Linked DNA regions of Homo sapiens: region 1 is linked to region 2. Evidence: promoter capture Hi-C in 16 types of primary human blood cells and fetal thymus (Javierre and others, 2016). All regions are on one chromosome and are shown on one strand. The core of a region is centred on a gene start or on the middle of the fragment in contact, and the rest is flanking DNA. Distances in the headings are between cores, read along the strand shown.

What was found. The method cuts DNA at HindIII sites, captures the fragments that hold promoters and counts their contacts. A CHiCAGO score of 5 or more calls a contact.
Region 1: a fragment that was not itself captured here is called in contact with the fragment with the promoter of SLC26A4 in region 2 in 1 of 17 cell types (naive B cells); the score reaches 5.3 in naive B cells.

What each region holds. Positions count from the first base shown.
Region 1 is chr7:107,570,554-107,573,257 of GRCh38, reverse strand. DUS4L-BCAP29 (DUS4L-BCAP29 readthrough) reads right to left here. Exons shown (of 13, transcript NR_163941.2): 4 at 1,992-2,113. It overlaps DUS4L (dihydrouridine synthase 4 like), which reads right to left. Exons shown (of 8, transcript NM_181581.3): 4 at 1,992-2,113. Among named protein-coding and RNA genes, the nearest start is that of DUS4L-BCAP29, 7.9 kb to the right of the region's middle. The HindIII fragment of the contact is 1,159 bases long and covers 730-1,888 here.
Region 2 is chr7:107,659,537-107,662,236 of GRCh38, reverse strand. It overlaps SLC26A4 (solute carrier family 26 member 4), which reads right to left and starts at 1,409. Exons shown (of 21, transcript NM_000441.2): 1 at 1,382-1,409; 2 at 432-598. The coding sequence starts at 595. SLC26A4-AS1 (SLC26A4 antisense RNA 1) reads left to right here and starts at 439. Exons shown (of 2, transcript NR_028137.1): 1 at 439-635; 2 at 2,031-2,700. The HindIII fragment of the contact is 14,838 bases long and covers 1-2,700 here.

The sequences.
Region 1 (2,704 bases), core at 60-2,559, 89 kb after region 2:
TAGTGTATTTTTAGACTGTTTCACATGCTCTGAGTATATTCATAGGGTAAATTCTTAGGAGAATTGTTAATAGGCATTTAACATACAACACTGTGATAGATATTACAGAATTATCTTTCAAGAGTTTACCAATATAGACATATACCAATATGGATAAAAGTTCTTGTTTCCTCACAACTTATCATACAGTGTATATCCAACATTTGAATATTCTAATTTGTGAGCTCTCTTCATATTCTTTGCATTTTTCTGTATATAATTTTTCCATTAGTTGTTCTTTTTATTTGTAATTTTTTTAATAAAACAAAGAAATTAGTATTGCTATCTATCATGTGTTATAAATATTCTCCTCAGTTTTTTGTCTTTGAGTATATTTGTGCTCTTACATATAAATGTTTAATTTTTTTTTTTTTTTGAGACAGAGTCTGTCACCCAGGCTGGAGTGCAGTGGCACAATCTCAGCTCACTGCAACCTCTGCGTCCCAGGTTCAAGTGATTCTCCGGCTCAGTCTCCCAAGTAGCTAGGATTACAGGCACCTGCCACCATGGCCAGCCAATTTTTGCATTTTTAGTAGAGATAGGGTTTCACCATGTTGGTCAGGCTGGTCTCAAACTCCTGACCTCAGGTGATCCACCCACCTTGGCCTCCCAAAGCGCTAAGATTACAGGCATGAGCCACCGCCTCTGGCCCAAAGTTTTAATTTTAATACAGCCGAATGTATTAAAGCTTCCTAGGTTTTAAAGAACATATTTTTCGTATCCTTGGGTCAGTGTTATAAACTCTGTTTAGATGTATTTCAACATTTCTTTTGAGGAATACTTGTATGAGATTCACTGGGTGTTTATGAAAATGCAGATTTGTGGGCATCATCCTAGTTGCACTGATTCAAGATTCCTATGGCAATCTACTGATTTACAGGATTATGATGGTTTAGGAGAATTTGCTTTATTCTTTATGGAGATGTAAGGTGCTTTCCCTTTTGTAACTCAAGAGAGTTACAGAATTTCAATTTAACAACCATTTATTGGTCTAATATATTTCCAACACTGTACTAGATGCTGAGGATACAAATCAAGCTATTTCTAAAGCTACAGCCCTCAAGGAGGCCGAACCTAATGGGAGAAACAGGCATATAAAGAGGAAATCATAATGCAGTAGAATTAAGTGATTAAGTGCAACATAAGAGCCTGTGCTTAGCAGGGAGGACATGAGTAGAGGATGATCAAAAAAAAAAAAAAAGATTCATGGCTACAAATATTGAGAGCTGAATGACGAAACATAAACTACAGTTTGCAAGAGAGAGAGGGGGTCTGGTGTGAGAAGACAGTGTATGTTCAAGGACTTAAAATAACTTAGGAATTTTGAAGGATAAAGTCAGTGGGGTGTGGGGAGAAACTGAAGGAAGATAAGGCTGCAGAAGATGTATTCAGAGGTCAGATTATGAAAAACTGTGTATTATCTTTAGGTGCTGAAATTTTAGTCTTTAAGCCAGTAGTTCTCAACCTTTAACAAGCTCAGAATTACCTGGAGAGCTTTTAAAACACAGATTGCTGGACCACATATGTGGAATTTCTGATTTAGTACACCTGTAAATCTCCATTTCTAACAAGTTTCCAGATAATACTGATGCTGCTGGTCTGGGGATCACACTTTGAGAACAATGAGAGAAAAATTTACATGTTCAATAGGTCACTTTGGTCTCCTTGGAGGATAGTTTGGAATGGTACAAGACTAGAGGCAGTGTGACAGGAATCTACTCTAGTAGCCCTAGTGAGAGGAGAGGGTTTCAAAGTGACCTTACACTTTGGTATATACACTGATAGTTTGCAAGGCATTCAGTAATAACATGTAAAAAATACTTATTAAAAACACTAAAGAACTAAAGCTTCTTCACATAAAATCTCTAAATTGTGTTGTTTCTGATAAGATAGTTGAGTTTGTAAACAAATTTAAAAAGTTTTACAAAGTCAGTACACTCGGTTTCACATACCTTGATTTGTGGTAAATTCGCTGTCTCTGGCTTTTATAGATTTGACAAAATCAGCGGCAACAATCATTGGTGTGTAACACAGATCACAACTATATTTTCTTACTAGTGTCCTAAAAGCCAACCTGTGAGCATATAAAACCTTAATTATGCATTTAGAAACACCACAAACATATTTTAGTGCATTGTTAAATATTTATCAGAGAAAGTTCTACCTATGGGGAGATGGAGGAGATTTACTTTTCCCTATTATTCCTGTTAAGTATTACTAAAAACCTTGGATATTATATATAAAACAAACACAAGAAAATTTTGAAAGGTGAAGAAAAGATGTCCAGATAGGCTAGTGACCTCAGGACCTGAGGAATGACAGGGTGGTGAGTTCTCTGGGTTTTATTTTTGTCTCAAATATCCTAGACTTGAAGAAGCTGGCCACCTGGAAACAACAATGGATGCAGACAAAACCAGCCCCAACAAAAGCCTTCTCTAACCAAAGGACCAGGAAAATGTTCTGTCTGACCTAGTAAGACAGAAAACTTTTAGACAGTTCTACTCCAGCCAAATACTGTAGAAAAAGCTATGGCTTTATCTCCATTAGCAAAGGCCAAGTGGGAATCCTAGACTTCTACCCTCCAAAGGCTGTAACAAGGTGCTCCAACATTCTATTGATACCAAGGCCAGGTAAGGATCTGAAACTTTCATCTCTGGTGGCCACT
Region 2 (2,700 bases), core at 160-2,659:
TCTAACTGAATGGTAGCCCGCCTACTTAGCTTGAGTGTTTCAAGGACTCCTCCTGGTCAAGAGCTGGGTTTCCCTATTCATTTCATTTAAACAAGCTCCCAAGAAGGCAACAGGGACCCACTGTACCCCAAGAGGCACTCCAAGTTTCCTTCAGAGAGGAAAAAGAGAGACGGGGCTCCTAGAACCCACTCTCCCCAAAGGCGAGTTTCCCAGGTAAGTTCATTTCGGGCCCGAGACTGATGGAGCCACCCTCCCACCAGAAGGGCGGCGTGGAGGACCGGAGACCGAAAGTCGGGCCTCTGGGAGAAGCAGCTGGCGCCCAGGGGCTCCGCCGCCCGCACCCCACTCTCGCCCGCTGGGGACGCCCTTCCCTCCCCAAGGCGTGGACGCCCCGCTCCGCTTCTCTCTACGCAGGCCCGCGCGGCCGCTACCTGCAGCACTTGGCCAGGCTCTCCCGCAGCGTCTTGCGCTCCTGCAGGCGCCGCTCGTGCTGTTGCTGGAAAGCGAGCTCGCTGTAGACCGGCCGCGACACCATGTAGCTGCAGCTGTACTCGGGGAGCTGCGGCGGCTCCGACCTGCCGCCTGGCGCTGCCATGACCTGCGAGCCAGAGGACAGCGAGGAGGGAGGACACGCGGTAAGCGAGGACGATCGGAGGGGAAGAGCGAGGAACAGAAAGAACGGGATCACCTGTTAGCTGCAGCCAGGCCCCCCTGCACCGCGAGTCTGGTCCGCGTCCTGCAGCCCTCGGCGCTCGCGACAAGCGCCCCACGGCGCGCACGGCCAGCCTGCAGGGGGGCACCTGAGAACCTTCGGGTCTCGTGGCCTGCACCCGCTGCCCGGGGTTCCCCAAACTTGAAGCGAGTAAGCCCCTGCTCTGGGGGCTTCCCGAGTTCCACCCAGTCCCCTATGGCCCGCAGCCAGGGCGCTGTCCGCGTTCTGAAATCTCCCCCAAACCGAGGGGCTGGGGCAGGGGCCAAAGGCGCTTGCAAGGCTGGAAGGGGACACTGAGATTCCCTCCCTCCCCGCACCTGACCCGGGACGCAGCTCCAGGTGCGCACTGGAGGAGAGGTGCAGACCCCCGGGCCAGGCGTGGAACCGTCAGGGCGCGCTCCGCGGGTCCCCAAGAGGCGGACGCTGCAGGCACATTCCAGCAGCTGTCGCAGCCCTCTCGGGGGCAGAACTTTCAGCTTATTGAGCAAGTCTCTCCCCTCGTCCTGTTTTCCGAGCAGCCTGTTCGCTCTCGGCGTCTCAGAAAGAAAGCTGTACTGCCCCCTGCCCACCTGATCCGTGACCACTTAAGAGTCCCATCCGCAACCCTCGAGGCCTCCCCGGGAGTGGAGCCCGGGCCGGGCGGTGTGGGCATCTTCAGGGCGAACTCACCTGTCTCTGCTCGCGCCCCGCCCGGAATGCCCCGCGGACTACCCTTCCGCTGCCTTTATAGCGCTCTCAGAAGGCAGTGGGACGTTTTATTTACGGAGCAACAGACACCTTGGTCGAAGGGAAAGACACACACAGGCTGCGGTCTTTCCCAACCGATCCTATCAGGAAAGAAATCCTACCCCTCCTGCATTCTTCCCCTTTCCCGAACCGGGAAGGCTGAGACTCTTACTGGCTGCCACGCAGGGGCCACCCGGATCCTCACTCATCCCGTTACTAATCTCAAGGGTTGCGAGGTCAGGGGCGGGCCAGGCCCTGTGGGACTCCTTAAAGAAGAGCAGAGCCCGCCTAGAGGAAGAGGTCCGTGGTCTCTGGGAGCCTGCCACAGGTGCTCTCATACCACATGGGGAGGAGAAGAGGAACAATGGCCAGGTTTCTATATTAATAAGTCCTTGAATTTCTAGAAAGTCTTTTAGGAGTATTCAATGGGTGGAGGATACAGAGAGTTCACGATTTACTCAGATTTTAGCCACTTATTCTACGTGTGCATGTGTGTGTGTTTTATTTCACAATCCAAATCAAGCCGTCCAGGTGGCCCTTTCTTACCCACTAGACTCTGTTTTTTCTTTTTCTCATTCTCCTGGACAATCAGGGAAGGAATAAACTGGACTACATGGAAATCAAGACTAGAAGAGAGGGAGGAGGAGCTGGAGCTATCCTACCTCATCAGTGTTTTGTCTTCTGTTGGGATGAACTTTGTTAAAACTAATGCATGGTTAAGATGAAAGGCAGAAGGAAGGGTTTGATAAACCAGAACATTCTCGCCTGATTGTTAGTGTTCTGAAGTAAATACAGAAGAGGCTCCAAAATACAGACCTCTGTACATCAACCTTCCGTAATCCACCTGCCTTGCATATGCAGACCATGACAATTCTACGAGCTCCTGGAAACAGAACTCAGAACTCCTCCCCAGAGAACCCTGATGCAAATTCTCTGAAATGGTAGTCAGCATGTGCGTTTTCCTGAGAAGTGAATGAGTCAACAGCTTTCAACAGATCTTCAAAGGCTTACTTCACCCAATGAAGTTAAGAACCACTAAAGAAGAAACCTAAAAGGAAAATCCAGGTCATGAACTTTGCAATTTTTATTCACATACAGAGAAGAGGGGAGGAATCTCTTGTGTATGTTTTACTTATGTATACCACTGGTTCTTAATAAAGGGCTTTTTTTGCCTCCAGAGGTCAATGCCTGGAGACATTTTTGGTTGTCACACCTAGGGAGATGCTATTGGGATCTAGTGAGTAGAGACCAGAGATGCTGCT